Linked DNA regions of Homo sapiens: all the other regions are linked to region 6. The links are contacts of gene promoters, found by promoter capture Hi-C in blood cells and fetal thymus (Javierre and others, 2016). All regions are on one chromosome and are shown on one strand. Each heading gives the region's core, a stretch centred on a gene start or on the middle of the fragment in contact. The rest is flanking DNA. Distances are from core to core; before and after follow the strand shown.

The links. The method cuts DNA at HindIII sites, captures the fragments that hold promoters and counts their contacts. A CHiCAGO score of 5 or more calls a contact.
Region 1: a contact is called between a fragment that was not itself captured here and the fragment with the promoter of WNT5A in region 6, in 1 of 17 cell types (monocytes). The highest score is 6.0, in monocytes.
Region 2: a fragment that was not itself captured here is called in contact with the fragment with the promoter of WNT5A in region 6 in 5 of 17 cell types (monocytes, M0 macrophages, M2 macrophages and 2 more); the score reaches 9.7 in monocytes.
Region 3: a contact is called between a fragment that was not itself captured here and the fragment with the promoter of WNT5A in region 6, in 1 of 17 cell types (monocytes). The highest score is 5.1, in monocytes.
Region 4: a contact is called between a fragment that was not itself captured here and the fragment with the promoter of WNT5A in region 6, in 1 of 17 cell types (monocytes). The highest score is 5.6, in monocytes.
Region 5: a fragment that was not itself captured here is called in contact with the fragment with the promoter of WNT5A in region 6 in 1 of 17 cell types (monocytes); the score reaches 6.0 in monocytes.
Region 7: a fragment that was not itself captured here is called in contact with the fragment with the promoter of WNT5A in region 6 in 3 of 17 cell types (M0 macrophages, endothelial precursors and monocytes); the score reaches 8.6 in M0 macrophages.

The regions. Positions count from the first base shown.
Region 1 is chr3:56,438,503-56,441,578 of GRCh38, reverse strand. All of the region lies in intron 1 of ERC2 (ELKS/RAB6-interacting/CAST family member 2), which reads left to right. It overlaps LOC105377099 (a long non-coding RNA gene), which reads right to left. Exons shown (of 3, transcript XR_940862.3): 3 at 202-460. Among named protein-coding and RNA genes, the nearest start is that of ERC2, 28 kb to the left of the region's middle. The HindIII fragment of the contact is 2,454 bases long and covers 63-2,516 here.
Region 2 is chr3:56,239,034-56,242,123 of GRCh38, reverse strand. All of the region lies in intron 3 of ERC2 (ELKS/RAB6-interacting/CAST family member 2), which reads left to right. Among named protein-coding and RNA genes, the nearest start is that of ERC2, 230 kb to the left of the region's middle. The HindIII fragment of the contact is 3,700 bases long and covers 1-3,090 here.
Region 3 is chr3:56,291,190-56,294,448 of GRCh38, reverse strand. All of the region lies in intron 3 of ERC2 (ELKS/RAB6-interacting/CAST family member 2), which reads left to right. Among named protein-coding and RNA genes, the nearest start is that of ERC2, 180 kb to the left of the region's middle. The HindIII fragment of the contact is 4,131 bases long and covers 1-3,259 here.
Region 4 is chr3:56,221,638-56,224,737 of GRCh38, reverse strand. The region is part of intron 3 of ERC2 (ELKS/RAB6-interacting/CAST family member 2); the gene reads left to right. Among named protein-coding and RNA genes, the nearest start is that of ERC2, 250 kb to the left of the region's middle. The HindIII fragment of the contact is 764 bases long and covers 1,443-2,206 here.
Region 5 is chr3:56,307,194-56,310,384 of GRCh38, reverse strand. All of the region lies in intron 2 of ERC2 (ELKS/RAB6-interacting/CAST family member 2), which reads left to right. Among named protein-coding and RNA genes, the nearest start is that of ERC2, 160 kb to the left of the region's middle. The HindIII fragment of the contact is 9,723 bases long and covers 1-3,191 here.
Region 6 is chr3:55,485,514-55,488,642 of GRCh38, reverse strand. It overlaps WNT5A (Wnt family member 5A), which reads left to right and starts at 1,337. Exons shown (of 5, transcript NM_003392.7): 1 at 1,337-1,663. The coding sequence starts at 1,658. It overlaps WNT5A-AS1 (WNT5A antisense RNA 1), which reads right to left and starts at 1,025. Exons shown (of 2, transcript NR_046656.1): 1 at 764-1,025; 2 at 335-653. The HindIII fragment of the contact is 5,010 bases long and covers 1-2,659 here.
Region 7 is chr3:56,265,938-56,269,146 of GRCh38, reverse strand. All of the region lies in intron 3 of ERC2 (ELKS/RAB6-interacting/CAST family member 2), which reads left to right. Among named protein-coding and RNA genes, the nearest start is that of ERC2, 200 kb to the left of the region's middle. The HindIII fragment of the contact is 3,668 bases long and covers 1-3,209 here.

The DNA of each region.
Region 1 (3,076 bases), core at 40-2,539, 950 kb before region 6:
CAATCTGAATATTGCTCAAACGGAACATTGAAAAGCTTTATCAATCAAAATATTATAAAGCTTTATCAATCACAATATTAATTATGATATTTCCATTTTAAAAATAATTACCTAAGTGTTTCAGTTCTTTTGCTGTGTAACAAAAATCTGTAAAACTTGGAGTGGGGCTTTAAATAATAATTTCTTACTTCCCACCTGATTCAGTGGGTTGATTGGTGGTCTTGTTACATATAGTGATGGCTGTTATTCATGCAGCTGATTAAAGACGGTGGCTGGGCTGGGCTGGAAGCTCCAACATGGCTTGTCTCACTGGATTGGTGTTTTGGTGCTGACTCTTGGCTGGGTGCTTTGGTTCTCCTTCACGTGGCCTCTCTCTGTATGTGGTATTTCATCTTCCAGGGCCGTTCTGTGTGGCTCCTAATTTTAGCAAGATAGCTTGGACTTCTTTGCATCATGGCAGCTGAGTTTTAAGAGAGCAAAACCAGAAACTGTCAAGCCTCTTTAGGGTTAGACTCAGAGCTGGAACAGTGTCTCCTCTACTGCATTTGTTGGTCTAAGCAGGTCACAAGGCCAGTCCAGATTCAAGGACAAAGGAAATAGAATCAATTTCTTGATGGAACTAATGGAACTACAGACAATTCTGTATAGGAAGGAGAGGACTTTTGATGGCCATCTTTGGAGGCTCATAGTATCTGTCAAAAATCTTGTGTTATAAAAATACTTTGTGGCATCTATGTTAAGTGGGAAATGGAGATGATGTTAAGATAAAACATGGAGAAAAAGGAAAATACAAGACTTATATATAGTCTTTATATAGTTTGATTTACATAGTCTTTATATTGTCTGGCTTTGTCTAAAACTGCACACACACACATACACACTTAAAAGGAATTGGAAGTAACATAATACATACTGGCTAGTTTTGAACTGCTGTCCTCAAGCAATCCTCCTGCCTCAGCCTCCTGAGTAGCTGGGATTACAGCAGGAGTCAACATGCCCTGCCAAGCCCATTCTTTTTTTTTTTTTTTTTTGAGACAGAGTCTTGCACTGTTGCCCAGGCTGGAGTTCAGTGGCGTGATCTTGGCTCACTGCAAGCTCCGCCTCCTGGGTCCATGCCATTCTCCTGCCTCAGCCTCCCGAGTAGCTGGGACTACATGCGCCCACCACCACGCCTGGCTAATTTTTTGTACTTTACTATTAGTAGAGATGGGGTTTCACCGTGTTAGCCAGGATGGTCTCGATCTCCTGACCTCGTGATCCACCCGCCTCGGCCTCCCAAAGTGCTGGGATTACAGGCGTGAGCCACCTCGCCCGGCCGCATTCAGTTTTATGTGTGTGTTCTACGAAACATTTCAGGAATAGGGAAGACTGGTATTATGCTAGCTTGTTAATAGAGGTTATCTATGAGTGACAGGATTGAGAGTGTTTTCATTTTCTGCTTTATGCATATTTGTATTTTCTAAATTTTCTATAATAATCTATTAGTTGGTTTAATAATTAAGAAAAACTAATAAGCCAATTAGAAAGTCTTGACAAATTTCAAAGATTGGAAAATATATATGTTACATTTTATGATCCCAATGCTATACAATTTGAACTAGAAAGTTTACCATAAAATTTCTATCCACTTTGACATTTAAATATATTATTCTCAATAATTCCTGGGATAGAAAAATTTCAAAATAAAAACAGCAAGGTATTTACAAATGCCAATAAGAGTTTTATACATAGAATTCTGGAATATGCAGCCATGTGTATAATCTTATATGCATTCATTAGGAAATGTGATTAAAGAGAAATGAACATTCAATGCAAAAGGGCAAAAAAAAACCATAAAGGAAGTAGAAATTTTATTAAAGATAAAGAGATATCAATGAAATGGAAAATAAGATGCAGTAAAATATATTAATAAAACCAAAAGCTATATCATTTAAAAAATTTTAAAGAAAAGTTATACAAAGCAATGCCAATAAGACTGGAAAATCTACACGGAATAGACTGTTTGTGAAGGGACGTTTTAATGATAATTGACACAAAATAGGTAGCAAACCCAAATAGACAAGTAAACATAGTGAAAAAGTGAAAAGATAATAAACAACTAGGCCCATTCTGTGTTTTTTGCTTTTTTAAAGAGACTGGGTCTCTCCCTCTGTCACCCAGGCTGGAGTGCAGTGGTGCAGTTATAGCTCACTGTAGCCTCGAACTCCTGGGCTCAAGTGATCCTCCTGCTTCACTCTCCCCAAGTAGCTGGGACTGCAGGCACATGACACCACACTGGGCTAATTTAAAAATTTTTTTTAGAGACAGAGTCTTGCTATATTGCCCAGACTGGTCTTGAACTTCTGTCCTCAAGCAATCCTCCTGCCTCAGCCTCCTCAGTAGCTAGCATTACAGCAGGAGTCAACATTCCCTGCCAAGCCCATTCAGTTTTATGTGTGTGTTCTACAAAATATTTCAGGAATAGGGAAGACTGGTATTATGCTAACTGTTCCAGAACATATGAAAAATGGAAAGCTTCTCAATCTATCTATGATACTAGCATACATCTGTTATTAAACCTAGAAAAGGAGAACCCAAGAAATCTATGGGCCAGTGGCAACATATATTACTTTTTAAATAAGGAAACAATATTTCAAACATGATAATACATCTTTTCATGTTGTATGTTATATGTGTGTGTGTTTCCAAAGGGAACAAACTAACTTTGTTTGTTGGTTATTGGGATTCTCCAAAGCCTTGGCCAGGTAGGCAGGTAAATTCACTGAGGATTAAATCTGTGTGCGTGTAAATTTTATGACATTCCGGGACCTCAAGCCTAGCCACAGACCTCAGAAATGTGTATCTCTAGATACAAAGGGAGCAGACAGAGGAAGACAAGTTAGATTTCATCACTTTTTCTAGGAAGACATCTCTATAAGTGGTGGCCCAGTTAGAACCCAGACATCTAGATTGTAAGCACAGAAAAGATACATTCATTTAACTGTTGGAACCATAGAAAGAAAATCATTTTTTTAATGAAAAAAGTATATATCATTATTATGTTACCAAAACACCAGAGGTTCAGTCCAGGTCCTGC
Region 2 (3,090 bases), core at 111-2,610, 750 kb before region 6:
GGTGTGCATATACCACATTTTCTTTATCCATTTGTTGGTTGATGGGCATTTAGGTTGGTTCCATATTTTTGCAATTGTGAATTGTTCAGCAAACTTTTTCTTAAACGGCCAGATGATAAATACTGCAGGCTTTGAGGGCCATTCTGTCTCTTGTAATTATTTAATGCTGCCATTGTAGCATGGAAACAGCAGCCATAGAAAATACATAAACAAGTGAGCATGAATTTGTTCAAATACAGCTTTATTTACAAAACTGGCAGCTGGCATTTAACCCATATGTCATCATTAGTTGACCCCTGCTCTAGCATGTAGGTGAGTGTGTATGTATGTGGATATGTGTTTGCATGTAAAACTAGTGTTAGAGTGTGTGCTTTTTTATGCCAACATTTGTAGGAACTCTGAGATGGAAGAGAAAGGTGGTCCAAAGTAGTAAGGGAAAGACTCGGTGAAGGGGGAACTATCTGTTTCTATGATCATATGTATAGCTCTATGATCTATGATCTTATCTCTATGATCATATATACAGAAATTTTCCTTATTCCAATTTTCTATCAAGAAAGTTGTTTGTTTGGGTTGATATTCTGTAGTAGATTTGCTGGGTTGAATGGTAGTTTTATTTTTAGTTCTTTGAGAAATCTCCGCACTGTTTTCCATAGAGCTGTTATAAATTTACATTCCTACCAACAGTGTATAAGGCGTACCTTTTCTCCACAGCCTCACTGACATCTGTTGTTTTTTGACTTTTTAATGATAGCTATTCTGACTGGTGTGAGATGATATCTTGTTGTGGTTTTAATTTGCATTTCTCTGATAATTAGTGATGTTGAGCATTTTTTTCATGTGTTTGTTAGCTGCTTGTGCGTCTTCTTTTGAGAAATGTCTGTTCAGGTCCTTTTCCCACTCTTTAATGGGGTTTTTGTTTTTTCTTGTTGAGTTGAGTTCTTTGTAGATTCTGGATATCAGTCCTTTTCATGTCTTTCACAGCAATATGGATGGAGCTGGATGCCATTATCCTAAGTGAAGTAACTCAGAAACAGAAAATCAAATATTGTGTGATCTCTTAATTGTAAGTGGGAGCTAAACAATGGGTATATGTACACATTCAGAGGGTAACAGTAGACACTAGGGACTCCAAAATGGGGGAGAGGAAAGGAGAGTGAGGACTGAAAAATTACCTATTGGATATAGAGTTCACAATTTGTGTGATGGGTACAATGGAAACCCAAACCTCAGCATCACACGATATATCCACGTAACCAACCTGCACATGTACCCCTGAATATATAAAAAAATTTTAAAAAGAAAGTTGTTTGTAAAGTCATTCGTTTTTCCATTTATTCTACAAGTATTTGCTAAGTGGTCGTTTTACACAAATGTTTATTCTAGCTTTTTCAAGTTTAATAGCTGGATATGTTTTCCATATTTAAATGACTCATTTTTAAGCATATTTTTGTGTCTCTGAAATTGGACTGCATCTCACAGTTGGTGGTGCTATTACAAGATTTTCTTTTCTCTGTGGGTATAAATTAAGATGCTTCTTATAATTGTTGGTGTCTTAAATTCAGAAGAAATATGGTAGATGATTTAGCACTGCCTTAAATATTTTTTTAAACAGGGTCATTTACTTTAGGTATTTTAGTTTTTACATTTACATTTACTCAGCAACTTACTAGACATGAAGATTCTGAGCACATTTTTAAACAAAAATTGAAAATGCTTTTTTAAAAAATTACTATCTTCAGTCCTGACTGAGATTAGTTATTTTACACATCTCAGTTAATGTTCTGTTAAATAAACTTCTCCCATCAAGCATGACTTTTCATGTACACTTTTGATGGTTTTGGCTTGTTTCACAGATTTCCTTCTTAAAGGTAAAATGTGGATTGAAATTTCAGAGATACAATTCTGTGGCCTGGTGAAGAAGCTGGTCATTGTTCTTCGTGTCCATTACTTATAACTTTCCCTTTGTTAGAAGCACAGGATTTAAGAACAGGTGTTAGAATATGTGTGTTTTCCCCTAATTTATCTCATTTTTATTTCATTGCTCTTGGATTTTCCAAAACTATGAAGCTCTTTATGCAGGACTGGCCTAATTAGGCAAACTCGGGAAGGTTTGTAAAAGGTTTAATGTTCCCCCTCTTTCCTGTCTGTATAAATCAATTAAAATGGACTATGAAGAAACTCACACTCAAATATTGTGTAACTCTAGATTTCATTGCTCTATGTTTGTTTTCTACATTGGAGGAGGAGGTTCTGCTTAACTGTACTTATGATTTATGGAAGCCAGAGATACATTTCAGCCAGTTCTGTGATATATGGGAATAGAACATACTACAGAAATATTATTTATGCCTCCGATCAGAAGGGGGAAAGCTGTTTCTTTTACTATACTTGTTTAAGCAGTGCGCGTAGTAAGCACATCTGTCTTTGTAATTAGTATAAAAATGAGAAAAATTAAAACTCAGATTAGTATTTCACAGTTGACATCTCTAGGTACTTCTAAGTTAATGCTCCCAAGTAATAATAGTAAATACTTCTCAGTGTTTCTAGTCTTTATCTGCTTTTAGCATGGCTTTCGTTTATTCTTTTTATCTTCTTTTTATTTTATTTTATTTTTTCAGACAGAGACTCACTCTGTCGCCCAGGCTGGAGTGCAGTGGTGGGATCTCGGCCCACTGCAACCTCTGCCACCTGGGTTCAAGCAATTCTCCTGCCTTAGCCTCCAGAGTAGCTGGGACAACAGGCGCATGCCACCATGCCTGGCTAATTTTTTGTGACAGGGTTTCACCATGTTGCCCACGCTGGTCGCAAACTCCTGAGCTCAGGCAACCTGCCCGCCTCGGCCTCCGAAAGTGCTAGGATTACAGGCATGAGCCACCATGCCTGGCTCGTTTATTCTTTATAAAGTTATTGTTTGGATGCTGAGTCTTAGGGTAATCTCTTCATAATTTTTTCCCTTTGTATATTTTAGAAAGGATCTTCAGTGCTGGGAGGTGGTTAAGGATTAATTGCCAGTTGATCATTAGAGTGTGATAAACTGTGATTCTTATGCCACATGGAGAATTTTACAGTGTAGTATTTGTGGTATTT
Region 3 (3,259 bases), core at 416-2,915, 810 kb before region 6:
TAACAGCCATTTAGTGAGCTTGGAAGTGGATCCTTTCCCAGTCGAGCTTCAGATAAGAAGACAGGTCCTGGGATGACATCTTGATTGCAGGCTGTGAGAGACTGTGAAACAGAGGAACCACTTAAGTTGTGCCTTGATTCCTGACACACAGAAACTGTGAGATAATAAATGTGTACTCTTTTAAGCTGCTCAATTTTAAGGTAATTTGTTACACAGCAATAGATAACAAATACAGTAGAGCAGAAAGTAATTTTCTCCATGTCTTACTTCATAGACCTCTCATGTAGTTTACAGAAGAGGAGCAACAATTACTGGCATGTTGTTACTTGCATGTAGACTAACTGTGGATTTTGGAATTTTTCTTGTGTTATCTCAAAACTGCAGTTGATAGAGGATCACTATAGTTGGAAAAAGCTGCTGTTTTATTTTGATGCCAAGGGGCAGCAAGGCTGTGATGCCAGAGAAATCTCCATCTGCAGCACCATTTCTCACTCCTTGTTGGGATCTTGTGGTCAGGGTGGAGTCATTCTTCTTCTGCAATTAGATTCTGCTCATTGATAGCACTTACTAGATGGTGCCTTATGTGGCTGCCTCCATTTAAATGAATCTAAACACAATTCATCTTGGGTTTTCTGAGATTGGCTGGTTCTCACAATGGTCTGGTGTGGATATAGATCATGTTTAGATCCCTAAACACCAGTTTGAAAGCACACAGAAGGGAGAACAGAAAGTGCAGACCAATACATTCAACTAGTTTCCCTGAGCATCAGACCAAAGTGAGTAGGTAGCCCTTATTTTAGCTCATCAAGAGGGGGAGAATTTGGAAAATACATCTGTATATAAAAGACTCATGTTAAACTTGAACTCAGCAAACAAGACTTGAAGGCCTGAAAGGATCATTCCCATGAGAAGGGTTGTACTGCCCTGTGAGAGCCATTTGTTAAATTCTCAGGAATCTCATGATCCTGGTGTTAAACCACACGTAGCCTGGAATTGGTCATATTTGGTGTATTTACACCATGGAAATTGGAAGATGCTACTCTTAGGGACTACCTTCCCCATTCCCTTGCCCATTCCTGAAAGCTGGTTTACTGGCACACCTCTGAATGAATGTTGTGAAATGTTTACCTCTAATACAGCAAGAGGATACACTGTGGAGTCATAATGTTACTTATTGGGAGAATTATGATTATGTGTGTATTAACCACTCACGGTTCCCCAAAAGTTTTCAAAATAGCATCTGTATGTGTCAGCTTATGTGTCAGGCATCATGAAGAATGCTTTACGTTGATTCACACTGAATCATCTCATTCATTCATTCATTTATTCATTCATCCATCCATTCATTCATTCATTAATCCATCCATTCATTCCTTCGTTGGATGAATACTTATTGAAGATCTGTTTTGGGATATAGCAATGATAATTAACAAAATGTACCTTCATGGTGCTTACATTCTATTGGGGGAAAATAGATGACAATTTTATGGTTTAAATAGAGGCGTGTCATGAAGAAGAGAGTGAAGCACTGGTGATGTGGGTGGGGCTAATTTTATGTTGGGTTGTCAGGGAAGGCCTCTTGGAGGGGGTGACAGTATGAACTGAGACCTGCATAACCAAAAGGACCAGCCATGTGAGGATCTCAGAAGACTGTTCCACTCAGATGGAAAGACCCATGGCCTAGGAGGTAGGTGCTGTTACTTTGCCCATCTTACCTGGGGGAACAGAGGGACAAACCCAATGTCACACTGCTAACAAATGGTGAAGCTAGTGTTTGAATCAGCCTGACTCTGGAGTCTCAGCTCTTAAACCATTTTACTATGTCCCTTTTCTTTTCTTTTTTTTGCGGGGGGCGGTGGGGGACGGGGTCTCACTCTGTCACCCAGGTTGGAGTACAGTGGCACAGTCTCGGCTTACTGCAACCTCTACCTCCCAGGTTCAAGTGATCCTCCCACCTCAGCCTCCTGAATAGTTGGGACTACAGGCATGTGCCACGATGCCTGGCTATTTTTTTTTTTTTTTTTTGTATTTTTGGTACAGACGGGGTTTCACCATGTTGCCCAGGCTAGGCTCCTGAGCTCAAGCGATCTGCCTGCCTCAGCCTTCCAAAGTGCTGGGATTACAGGTGTGAGCCACCGTGCCTGGCCTACATCCCATTTCTAGAAGAAATTTTCCCCAAATTGTGCTTGGCAGAACAGCCATTTTGTGGGCTGTTGATATGTGTTATGAGAGAAAAAGGGTTGCAGTGCCAAGTGAACTTGGGGAAATGAGGGATTCCACAGAGTTACAGTCTCAGTCTTTAATATGCAAATATGCATTAGTCATTTCCAAGAAGGGGACCAGAGAAGGCAGAGCTTCTCAAACTTACGTGACTTGCTTTTCTCTTGTTGCACTGGTGTTCTTTGTAAGACATTTTTGAAAAATGCTATGCTAGAAAATAAAAAGTGCTTCTAATTAATGACCTACCAAATACGTAATAATATACAAATGGTTGTTTCCCATTGCCAAATAACTGGGTTATTTCCTTCATTAGTTATTTTATAAGGCAAAGTTTATTGCAAGCTATTTCCATATTCTCTACTGAGTTTTAGAATGTACTTTGTCAGGGTATTTTTTTTTTTTTTTTAGTAGAAAGAATGTGTCTGACCACTTTTGTCATTATACCAGTAAGAATAACTTAGCTTGAATAAAGAAATTGCCTGACCTCTGTTAATATAGATGAATCTAAAACAAGATTTAAAATGTACTTGAGGTTTTAGGTTCAGTGTGTTCCTGATTTCATTTTCATTATGCACAGTTCGAGTAGGTTGGGGCTAGGCAGTGTGAAGCTGGGGAATGGAGTGCTAGTGGTTTTATGATTCATTCTTAGGCAGAGGTGGTGGACCTCACATAAACCCCATCTCCTGGCCTTGTTCAGCTTATTGTTTTAGGAGATTTGGAGTTGGCAGGAGTTGCATATGGGGTGGGTTGCTTTAGTGTCTTATTGTCTTTTGGTGGTCTGGAAAAGGCTGAGTGTGAAACCACTTCTTTGTCTGGCAGGAAACAACAACAAAAAGGTTATGATCTCAACTTACTTGGAAGACCAAAACCATTGCGCAGGAACTCCAACTGATGTGCTAATGTGAGCCAAAGGGTTGGCCGAAACTCAGCATTACTCACTAGCATTGTCTGATGTATTTGGATGCAGGTTGATTTGATAAGACATTGTTTGACGTTTACCTTGTTCTCTAGCTTTTTCTGCAAAGAACATATTGTTCCA
Region 4 (3,100 bases), core at 575-3,074, 740 kb before region 6:
ATGTAGAATACATGCATGTTTGGTTTGTAACTGTGGGTATTCTTGCATATTAAAACCCGTGTGTGGGTGTTTTTCTTGGAAAGCCTTGACCCGTGTTTCAGTGTTTGCATGGTGTGTCTGTCTTGCAGCCACAATAATAATTTCAGAGTTGCTCAAAGTTCTATAGTTAAATTTGTCATATGCCATGACAAAGGATGCATAGACTGTGGCACTGTTCCCTTACAATAATAAACAAGTACTCTCCTCACCTGCTCTGTGTTCCTTTTACCCCCGCCATCTCTATTTCCATCACCATGAAAAACCCCTCACCCCTGCCACTCAAGCTGTAGCTTGAACTCCTGGTCATTTTTATCTTTCTTATTTCCTCTTTATTCTGGATTTGGACATTTTGGTTTTTTTGTGTGTGCCCTGAATAATGCTGCTATAGACATCCTTTAACGTAAACACTAAGGTCCTTGTGTAAATAATTCACTGGACAAATTCCTAGTAGTGGGATTGGTGGGACAATTAATTAAAATTTTACCACATTCCCTTATAAATGAGTTGTGCTGCTTAAGACATCCACCCACAGAGCATGAGAGGGCTGACTTTTCCACACTCTAGCCAGCCTTTGGCTGTGCTAAACTTGAGCATTCTTGCTGATCTGAATCTAAAAATATGATTATACATAACTCTGTGAGTATATGAATATATTACTTAGTGAAACTAATTGACAGATGGTGGACATACACAAACTTTAAAATCTATATGTCATTTTTTGTTTATATTCTAAGTTGCTATGGATATCTCTTTACATATTATTCACTTGAAGTTATGTAAGAATATATCATTGAAAGATGTGATTGAATTAACATGTAGAATTAGCAGCTTTTAACATGTGGAGATAATGTTTTGTAGAATGTATTTTAAAAATGTACTTAGTGGAGAGGAAAATACTGCAAGTAATTTTTAGCATAGAAATAGTCACTCAGAGAATAAGGATCCTAAGATAAAATGTTGGCCCCCTGCTTTATTACTAGGGCTGGGTCCTAATTAGTCACTACAGAGAGTGCCAAAGAGAGGTTCAGTAGTCAGGGTATAGGTGCCAAGAAGCAGGGATTTTAAAAAAGGGGAGAGTTATATACATTGCAGGGCTAAAGTGTCAGCAGAAATAGTGTGGTTATCCTGCTAAGTCAACTAGACTTAAAATGGTTGTCATTTTTTTTTTTTTTTTTTTTTTGCCATTTTTCTTTGGTAGCCTTTGAGTTTGTTGTCCTTTTATTAATTCATCCTCTCTGCATTTGACAAATGTGGCTTCCACTTTCTTGCGTATGTTGCCTTCAATTTATGTGCCATCTTGGTTTTGGGGAAAATATTTTTCCATCTAAGAGGCATAATTCAATCAGTGTGGTGTGAAATGGGGACAGTGGTTAACAGAGGTCCCACCACAATGCCAGCAAGCTTTGCTCTTCCAGCAAAGGAATCTCCTCCAGTGGGATCATTCATACTGACTTACTTGGATGCTCTATTCCTGGTTTTCAAAATGTTCATTTTAGAAACAAAGATTCCTTTGAAAAATGGAACATGAAGAGATGAGGACAGTCCAGATTCCACAGAGCTACATTTGTCTACAGACATGGTCAGCTGCCCTGTTTTTGGGAGGGAAGTGGTTAAATTCTTCTCTCTGAGCTTGGTCTGTGGTGGCACAGTCTGTGTTCATTCCTGTCATGAGAAGAGGCACCCAGCTGGGGATGGCTGCTCCCTGAGCAGATAGAGGGAGGAGACAAGTATGATGGTCTCAATACGAAGCCAACGAAGGGAACTGCTTGTTCCCAGGATGGAGGAAAGATACAGGCATTGCCTGAAGCTCTGCCAGGCTTGAGGGAGTCTGTCTAGAGGTCTCCTTTTTTCCATTTCACATGTCGTGGCCAGGAGGCTTTTGTATGGTTTTGTGACCCATAGAAACAAGATGACTATGATGTATTTTGCATCTAGCTATAGCGGTTGTATAGCATTTGTTTATCATTCATTCATCTATTCAATATTTGTTGAGCATTTACTATGGGGGAGGTGTGGAGTATATTCATTGCTCAAGATCGACATGGTGACTGTACTCTGACCTTCCATTCTAGGGGAGCCAAAAATTAGATAAGTACTTATGAGTAGATGGTTCAGAAAGGGGGAAGACAGAAAATTTTGGGCAGTGGTACGCAAGAGCACCCAAGCTTATTTTAAACAGTCAGACAAGGCCTCACCAAGCAAATGGTGTTGTAGTTGAGAATTGAGAGAAGAATAACAGTTGGCCAATGGATGATGGGGGAGCAGGAGGTGGTGGTGGTGGTGTGTCCATGGTGTTCCATGAAGGGGGACATTCTCTGCAGCAGGTCAGGGAAAAACAGAAATTGTTTGCATGGGAAACTAAGAGGAATGTAGTGTGGATGTGGCTTAGAGAACCTGGGTTCAAGCTGTATGTTGTGGACATTTCTCACAAACAGAAGATATAATCTATAACTTTAATCTGCTCTGTCCTTCCAACCAGTATATCTCATATTATCTGCCTTTCTCAGCACCAATAATTTTCACATGGATGTAGTACCCTCAGTAATTTTCAGTATCTGGAGTCCTATGTTGCTAGTAGCATTGCCTTTGATTACTAAAAACATTTTAATATACTCTTGACAGTACCTGACAGTAAAATGGTATCTCTTCTTACACTGATGAGTGAATTATCTGAGTCATCAATTACTTCTTGTATCCTCAGTTTTTATTTTTTAATCAGAAGATGACAGAGCTTCTCATTGTACTATTGTGTAGATTGTTTCAGGAATTTTGAAATGCTTTTTAGATTTTTTTTTTTGTTTTGAGACGGAGTCTTGCTCTGTCGCCCAGGCTGGAGTGCAGTGGCACGATCTCTGCTCACTCCGCCTCCTGGGTTCACACCATTCTCCTGCCTCAGCCTCCCAAGGAGCTGGGACTACAGGCGCCCACTACCACACTCTGCAAATTTTTTGTATTTTTAGTAGAGACGGGGTTTCACTGAGTTAGCCAGGATGGTCTCGATCTCCTGACCTCGTGATCCACCCGCCTCGGCCTCCCAAAGTGCTGGGATTACAGGCGTGAG
Region 5 (3,191 bases), core at 346-2,845, 820 kb before region 6:
ATTGGCATTAAACATTTGCTAAGCAGTTAAATGAAAGAGCCGTCCTATAATAACTGTATATGGCTGTGACTGTTAATATTATAAGCGTTTCTATTTTAGCTATCGTTTCTATCATTACACGTTTGGGGTAGCTTCTCAACACATTTTTAAAATACCAGTATTTCTTAAACTGTAGTTTTTTTTGTAACCTGTATCAGGTTGAGAAGTGTTGATAACAGGGCATGCCATTATCCTTTAGTTGGTTGTGGATTACTGGCTAACAACAGGGAAAGAACACTGACCTTCAAAACAGAAATGGTTGGTATTCCTGAGAGTCCCTTGTAGAGTTATTTACAGGTCAGTTAATGTGAAATAAATTATATCCATCTTCGAATTGGTCTTAAAACATCTATTTCCCTTTTTCTCTTATTTAAAAAAATGCCAAAGCGCTTAGCATTTTGTTTCCCACTGTTGCATTTATTTGATAATCAAAGATTTATGTTCATTATGCCCGTTTCTTTTCCCTGCCCAAATCGGAGGAGGGAGGACAGAAATTTTAATTCCAGGCCTCTAGCCACCACCAGTGTCTCAAAATAATGAAAATAGCTAACATTTGTGGAGCATTCATTATGTGCCAAGCCCTGTGCTTCAGGCTTTAAGGGAACTTGTTTGCTCACTCAGTAAGCATCTCCTGTGGTGTTTGTATGAACCCTGTAGTGAGTTACAATTATTATTTCCTGTTTACGGATGAGTAGCCTGATGCTCAGAGTACTTAAGTAATTTGTTCAAGGCATCACAGGCTGTCATGGGTAGATCCAGGATTCAAAACTCAACTCTTCACCACTGTTCTCGGAAGCTGAGACAAGTTTAGTGATTTTTCCCCAGATCACGTAACTGGTTAGTTGCAAAGCTAGAATTAGAACTTAAGTCCTTAACTCTAAGCTCAGTGCAGTATTCCAATATTGTGCCACCTTAGAGTATTGGTCTGTAATGAAAACCAGAACTCCTCTTTGTGTACAAAAGCAACTGCCAAGAGGGCTTTCCCATGTATACTGTTCTTAGTGCTATGAATCTTGGCAAAACGTCACATATTATCAACCAAAGTGAGTTATGCAGTTATCAATGACAGTGTGTGGGTGAGGAACCCAGAGTCCCAGTGCTTTTAAAAATCACCTATCCATATTCTTTATTTAGTTATATGTGCTTCTCCTTGGGGTATTCTACCCCAAAAGAGAAAGCCTAGAGGCTAGACCATATGTCTAAATATTAATTTTTTATACCTCCCTCAGCAGGCCAACTCTTCCACCACACACTGGGGCCACATGTTTTCAGCTGGTCTGCTGTTTGTCTTTTCACACACATGACACAGCCTAAGGAAGATTTGAAGTCATGAAGAGTGTTGTACAGCCTGTACATAGGATTACAGAGAAAGGGATCAGAGAACCTGCCCTTCACATTAATTACAGACAAACTAGGAAGTGATTAATAAGAAAATAAAGTCACAGGAGAAGTAAAGCAGGCCAAGTTGTCTGCAAAGAGATTCTGTTTTCTTTGAAAGAGTTATGGTAAGTACTTGCTTGAGAAGGAGTATGGATTTATTAAAAAAAAAAACTTCACGACTTTTGGATATAAGCCAATTCATATTTTTATATAGCTTGGAGACGGTTTTCATAGCAATGAAACCCTAAGCTGCTTTACAGTGCAAAACTTTATCATTTTTGTTTTTTCCCCATAGTGTGGAAAAGAGCTTAAGGTCACACAGTTTTTCAAACCTGCCAGGAGCTCATATTTTCCATGTTTGGAGATAAGACACAGTAGATTCTAAACATCTGGCTATTCCCTATTTAAATAATTGTGTGTTCCATGCACATCATACATATATAATTATATTTTCATTCTAGTTACCTTTCTGTGTTTTAGACTTCTGAGATCTGGATTAGATTCTGACTCCAGTAGCTATTGGAAGTCACTCTTATAAACGTTGGCTAAGGCAAAGTGTATTTTTCCTTCTTTTTTATATAAACTCAAGTAGGGCTTAGTTTCTTGTATTTTCATTGTAACTTCTTTCAGAACTGAATGAATATAGGAGCTTATATGAGTTGTTCAAGATGAAATTCTGTAGTATTTTTAGAGCAGGGGAGACTGTAGAATTGGCTGGAGGAAACCTCAATTTTAGACACTGGCCTGTATCTGCTAATGATGTGATTGCAGTCAAATCCCCTAAGCCACCACAATTTATGCTCTTGTGAAGTGGACATAGTGTTGGCAGCTTTGGAGCAGTATTGTCAGATGAGTGAGTGGTGGATGTGAGGCATGTGAGTTTTGATGGAGAGGACAGGACAGAGTAATCCAAGGTTAAGGAAACTCTCTGCACCCCCAGCCCCTCAATCTAGCTATAGCTAAGCAAAGAGGAATGGAAACCTGTTCTCTCTGAAATTGTTCCCTTGTGCCGACGGTCTGGTGAGACAGTTTCCCTCTGGTCCTCTCACCTTTCTTCTATACTTCATTATGAAAATTAGAAACTGTCCTTGAGAGGGTCATTCTGTGTGTGTGTGTGTGTGTGTGTGTGTGTGTGTGCAAGTGTGTGTATAGTGAATACATGATTATATGATACATGACAATAGAACCCTTCCTTTCCACTACTCCCCCAACAGAACACGTATTAACATCTGCAGAATGCTGTTTCAGGGAACGTATTTGGGGAAACACTATTGAAACACAGTCTGGTAAAAGCCATGAGGATGCTTAATGTTTCAGTGGCCTGATTGGTTAAAGAAGTACACCAGGTTAATGGTCTTGGCATTTTGGCTCCAATGTCACCAGTATTTGAAGTTGAGGACTCGCTTTTCTTGAGGGCTTGTCTAGAGGAACACACAGTGTCTCACTGAAGCCTTTGAATAACATTGTGAGGTCTACACTGTTATCCCCACTTTACAGATGACCAAACTATGGCTTAGGGGAGATTCAGTAACTGAGCTCTGGTAATTGAGAGACTCTCAGCCAATATTGCTCAAAACCCATACTTTCCTCCCTACACTGTAATTGTGCACTGCATGGAAAAGATAAATTGAGATAAGACGCAAGGATTCAGGTTGCTTCTTTACTTTGGAAAGGCAAAAAATATATACATTTTTCTTGTTGACCTGGTAGGTGATGATTTCAGGTGCTGCTGATGTTGAAGTTGGCTTCTCGTTCTTTGTGAATTCACTTTA
Region 6 (3,129 bases), core at 88-2,587:
TTAGAGAAGGGGAGACAAGGAGAGTGTACCCCGCCTCCCGGCACCCCAGCCCGTAGTACGGCTTTAAAATCCTGCAGAGTTTGTCATAGGCCGGCCTCACCACGCATGCGCATAGCAAAGTTGAGTTTTTTCTTTCTTCCCCCCCCTTCCCTCTCTCTTTCCAGCCGCCCCTAGTTCTGAAACTTTAAAGAACTTTTTTCTTTCTTTCTTTCTTTCTTTTTTTTTTTTTCTTCCTTCTGAGAACACCAGGGGAAAGAGGAGTCTGGAGAGAGGGAGGGAGAGAGTAAGGCAGTTGGCCAGAAGGGCTGGGGGGTGGGAGGGGGGGACGCGTCCCCGCGGTCGGTCAGTCTGTTTGCGGGGCACAGGATCGCGTGGAAATCTGCTGCGAGCTCCACGGAGCCGCCTCCGCCGCCCAGAGCCGGGGTCCGTGCGGCAGCTGCCCAGCGAGCCCTTCCGCCGCCGCCGTTGTGCCCGGGACCGCCCGCCTCCCGCCGGCCCGCTCTCCCGCCCCTCGGACCCGGGCGCCAAACGAGGAGGTGGGCAGCTTCGCCGGCCATGGACCGCCGGAGCTGAGTCGCCGCCGCGGAGCTCCGAGCTCTCGCCCTTCCCCAGCCTCGCGCCCGCGGTGCACTCGCTGCTCTTCGCCCTTCGCCCTGGAAAAACGGGGAAAAGAGAGATCAACCCGAAGAGAGAAAGAACGGGATACGTGGTGGGGGGGGGGAGCCCGCGTCTCCCCTGGGTTAGTCGCACCCCTCCAGCTCACCGCACAGCAATAAGTTCCGGGGCGACTTTCACCTATTTTGCTCCCCGTTTTTGCCGAACCCTAAAATGAAAGGACACAATTTGGGGCTGACTCTTGCAGCTCAGATGGCGACTTGTGCGTTTTCAGCGGCATCTCCCGGAGAAAAAGCCATGCGCGCCTGATTGTTCTGTGGCCCCAAAGCTGCAGCGGGGGTGTGTGTGTTGGGGTGTGTGTCTGTGTGTGTACAGAGACGTCCACACTAACTCGCGGCTGCAGGATCAGCGTCTGGAAGCAGACGTTTCGGCTACAGACCCAGAGAGGAGGAGCTGGAGATCAGGAGGCGTGAGCCGCCAAGAGTTTGCAGAATCTGTGGTGTGAATGAACTGGGGGCACCTGGGCGCACAGATCGCCCCCCTTCCCCCGCCCCGGGCCACAGTTGAGTAGTGGTACATTTTTTTCACCCTCTTGTGAAGAATTTCTTTTTATTATTATTTGTCGTAAGGTCTTTTGCACAATCACGCCCACATTTGGGGTTGGAAAGCCCTAATTACCGCCGTCGCTGATGGACGTTGGAAACGGAGCGCCTCTCCGTGGAACAGTTGCCTGCGCGCCCTCGCCGGACCGGCGGCTCCCTAGTTGCGCCCCGACCAGGCCCTGCCCTTGCTGCCGGCTCGCGCGCGTCCGCGCCCCCTCCATTCCTGGGCGCATCCCAGCTCTGCCCCAACTCGGGAGTCCAGGCCCGGGCGCCAGTGCCCGCTTCAGCTCCGGTTCACTGCGCCCGCCGGACGCGCGCCGGAGGACTCCGCAGCCCTGCTCCTGACCGTCCCCCCAGGCTTAACCCGGTCGCTCCGCTCGGATTCCTCGGCTGCGCTCGCTCGGGTGGCGACTTCCTCCCCGCGCCCCCTCCCCCTCGCCATGAAGGTAGGTGTTCAGTGCGCTGCCACTTTTTTTCTTTACTTCCCCCCACCCCCTGTTGGAAGTTAACTGAGTTCCCTTCGCCTCTTCCTATCCCTCCATTTCCCCAACCGCCTGAAGAAGCTGGAACTCCAGCGTCGCTGGCAGGAACCCCTACCCCTTCGCCCTCCACGCCGGGCGCACTGCCTCAGTGTCCCAGGAGATCACTTCTGGTCGCACCACCCGTTCTGCAAACAATTTTGATTTTTGAGAAAAAGTGGGGAAGAGCGATAGTAGACAAACTGAGTGCGGTTCACTGACGACTTTCCTTTTGCTCTGAGAACATCGAGTGTAATTTACTATGTATATTTCAGTAACAGGATAATGATTCAATTCAACAAATATTTACCAAGCGCCCACTGCGCGGGCACCGGGACGGTGTGTGGCCGGGGCTCGGGATGGGGAAAGGGACTCCTTGGTTGAGAGAACCCGCAGAGGAACTAGGGGCCAACTACTCCAGAGCGGCGTACACCTTCCCCGACACCCCCCCGCACCGACGGAGGCCAGATTGTAGGCTTGCCTTGGCCGAGTAACTCGAGCGCTTCAGGCCCCTTTGCCTTTAAGAGTGCCTGGCGGGGGGCCAGCGCGCACCCCGGCGCGGGGAGCGGGGTCGCGTTATTAGCATTATTAGCCGCCACTGGGTGAGCTCAGGCACTTTGCAGCAGTGGTGGGGGCGGGGAGTTGTGGTGGTAGTGGCTGTAATCCCGTACTCCGGGACAGCGCTCCCCGGCCCCCTGAGCGGAGTCCGCCTTGTCCTTTAGAAAACACTTGGGCCTCCGCTTTGGGAGAGCAGGCGGGGGCCAGTTTGCGAACTCTTGTTTGTTTTAATTGTCAGTTGTATGTTAAAGCCGAATCACACACTCCGAGGGTCACTGAGAGTTCACTTTTACGAAAAGTTAACGTTTCTTCCTGCAACATAAGTTTTTATTTTCTAAACAATTTTTCTTATCTGTCCTCCAAGCTTCGATTCCTATTTCCATTTTTCTGGTCTTTCCCATTTTAAGTTTCTTAGAAAATAAGGTTAGAATTGAAATTAAGATGTTTCCTGGAAGCAAATAACCCCTCTTCCCCCCAAAAAGTTAAAAAAAACAACAACAAAAAACTTCAAGTCTGGAGACCCCACGGCCCTGTTTGACTTTCTAATCCCTGTCTGGTATCGAGGCCCCTTCTCCTCTCTCGCCTCTCTTTTCTCTCTTCTCTCTTTAAATGGGTAATTCGCTGTTTGGAAGTAACTTGGGCCTTGCGGTGAGGTCGCACCTCCTCAGCCCCTGCCCTCCCCCCAGCCACCTTCGCACATTCACTGCCGAACCAGCCAGATTTAGTTTCTAGACAGACTCTGCCAGGGGAGTTTCGAGGGGGCAATGCGGAGAGTGCGCAGCGAACCGCGGGCCGACAAATGTGTGTGTGTCCGAGTGTGTGGATCCTTGGCTGCG
Region 7 (3,209 bases), core at 442-2,941, 780 kb before region 6:
TTTTCCAAGCTGTTAGGATCTTGCATGTTTATAACGTTAGCCAAAGTGCTAGTACTTAATGAAATTTCCATTGTTTTCTTTTTATTGATGGATCTGAAATTTTTTTTCTATTATAATTTTGCCTCCTATTTGTATCTTTAACCTCAAACCTAGCTGATTGTTACTAGAAAATAGGAATGGTCTCACTCACAAATTTAAGGCGTACCACATAATGTTTTGATATACATATACAGTCATGCACAATCAACTTTAGGGACATTCCACATCAGGTTAAAGTCAGCTGAGTATATAGTGTGGAAAGGTCTGGGAGAAGGCTGGTGAAAATTAGAACTTGTAAAGCGATACGTTTTGTTAGATTGGGGGAGTAAACTTTACCAAATTGGCCTGCCCTTCTATTTTGGTCTTTCAATGTTTAATTGAAATTTAAAAGTTATTAGACTTGCTTTAGATTAAGTGGGAGTCAAGTCACTTATACCAGTTAGGCTTACTATAATATAACAAATTAAACAATTATAACACATTAAAAGTTGATTTATTTTGTAAGTTAGCAAATATAAATTCTGTATTATTCTGGAATACTGAGAATTTCTCAAGTTTTTACTTGCTGAAGGTGTGTAGGGGCTAGAACAAATATGTATTTTAGAATTTTAGAATTCTCTTATATTTATTTTGTTTTTTATATATGTGCTTTTTATTTATTTTTATTGTATAAATATAAGGTATACAACATGATGTTTTGATACACAATCATGTGTTGCTTAACGATGGGGATACGTTCTAAGAAATGCGTTTTAGGCAATTTGACATTGCGTGAACATTGTAGAGTATACTTACATAGACCTGGATAGTATAGCTTCCTACATACCTAGGCTATATGGTATAGCCAATTGCTCCTAGGCTACTAACTTGTACAGCATATTACTGGACTGAATATTGTAGGCAATTGTAATGCAATGGTGTATCTAAATATTTCTAAACATAGAAAACGTCCAGTAAAAATACAGTATTATAATCATATGGTACTAGTGTCATATATGTGGTCCGTCATTTATCGAGACATCATGATGCAGGAATTGACTGTACATTGTGAAGTGATTACAATATTCAAGCAAATGAACATATCCAACATGTCATGTAGTTACCTTTCTTGATTGTGTCTGTGTGGTAAGAGTACCTAAAATCTACTCTGTTAGCAAATTTCCATTATGCAATACTGGAATATATCTATAAAACTATAGTTAATAATATGTATTGTTATTAACTATAGTCCTCATGCTGAACATTAGATCTCTAGATTTATTCATCCTATGTAATTACAACTTTGTACTTGACCTACATCTGCCTGTTTTTTTGTTTTGTTTTGTTTTTGAGATGGAGTTCCGCTCTTTTGCCCAGGCTGGAGTGCAGTGGCAAGATCTCGGCTCACTGCAACCTACGCCTCCTGGGTTCAAGTGATTCTCCTGCCTCAGCCTCCCGAATAGCTGGGATTATAGGTGCCTGCCACCACACCCAGTTAATTTTTTTTTTTTTTGTATTTTTAGTACAGACGGGGTTTCACCATGTTGGCCAGCCTGGTCTCAAACTCCTAACCTCATGATCCACCCGCCTTGGCCTCCCAAAGTGCTGGGATTACAGGCGTGAGCCACTGCGCCCTGCCAACATCTCCCTGTTTTACCCACTGTCCCCGCTTCCTGCCATAACCATTCTTCTATCCTGTTTCTATTGTATTTGATTTTTAAAAAACATTCCACATGTAAGTGAGATCATGTAGCCTTTTTCTTTCTGTGTTTGGTTTATTTCAGTTAGCATAATGTCTTATAGCTTCACCCACGTTGACCCAAATAGCAGGATCTCCTTATTAAAAGCAAAATAATATTCCACTGTGTGTGTGTGTATACAGGTTGAGTATCCTAAATTCAAAAATCTGAAATTCGAAATGCTCCAATATCTGAAACTTTTAAAGTGCTGACATGATGTTCAAAGGAAAAACTAATTGGAGCATTTTGGATTTTGGATTTTTGTATTTGGGATGTTCAACTGTTAAGAATAATGCAAATATTCCAAAACCTGAAAAAAAAATCAGAAATCCAAAATGCTTCTGGTCCCAAGCATTTTGGATAAGGGATTCTCAACCTGTATGTGTTCCTTTATCCATTTATCTGTCAACAGACACTTTGGTTGTTCCCATATCTTGGCTATTGTGAATAATGCTGCAGTGAATGTGGGAGTGCAGATATCTTTATGAGGTGGTGACTTCATTTCCTTGGAGTATATATCTAGAAGAAGGATTGCTGTGTCATATGGTAGTTTTATTTAAAAGTCTGCATTCTGACCAACAGTATTTAAGGGTTCTCTTCTCTCCATATCCTTGCCAACATTTGTTACCTCTTGTTTGTTTGCTTATTTATTTATTTACACAGACAAGGTCTTGCTGTGTTGCCTAGGTTGGCCTCAAATTACTGGGCTCAAGTGGTCCTTATACCTCAGCCTCCCGAGTAGCTGGGACTAAAGGCATGTGCCACCTCACCTGGCTACCTCTTGTTTTTTGCTAATGCCATTCCAACAGGAGTGGGGAGATATCTCATTGTGGTTTTGATTTGTTATTTCCATCATGATTAGTGATGTTGAGCACCTTTCCATAAACCTGAAGACTATTTTTTGACTTATTTGGAGAAATGCCTATTTAGGTCCTTTGCTCATTTAAAAATCTGGTTATTTGCTGGGTGCGGTGGCTCACACCTGTAATCCCAGCACTTTGGGAGGCCGAGGCGGGTGGATCAAAAGGTCAGGAGATCGAGACCATCCTGGCTAACACGGTGAAACCCTGTCTCTACTAAAAATACAAAAAATTAGCTGGGCATGGTGGTGGGCGCCTGTAGTCCCAGCTACTCGGTAGGCTGAGGCAGGAGAATGGCATGAACTTGGGAGGCGGAGCTTGCAGTGAGCCGAGATTGTGCCACTGCACTCCAGCCTGGGAGACAGAGCAAGACTCCGTCTCAAAAAAAAAAAAAAAAATCTAGTTATTTGTGTTTTTGTTTTTGTATTTTTTCTGTTGAATTTTATTTTATTTTATTTTATTTTATTTTATTTTATTTTATTTTATTTTATTTTATTTTTTTGGTCGGATTCTCACTCTGTCACCCAGGCTGAAGTGCAGTGGCATGATCTCAACTCACTGCAACCTCCACCGCCCAGGTTCAAGTGATTCT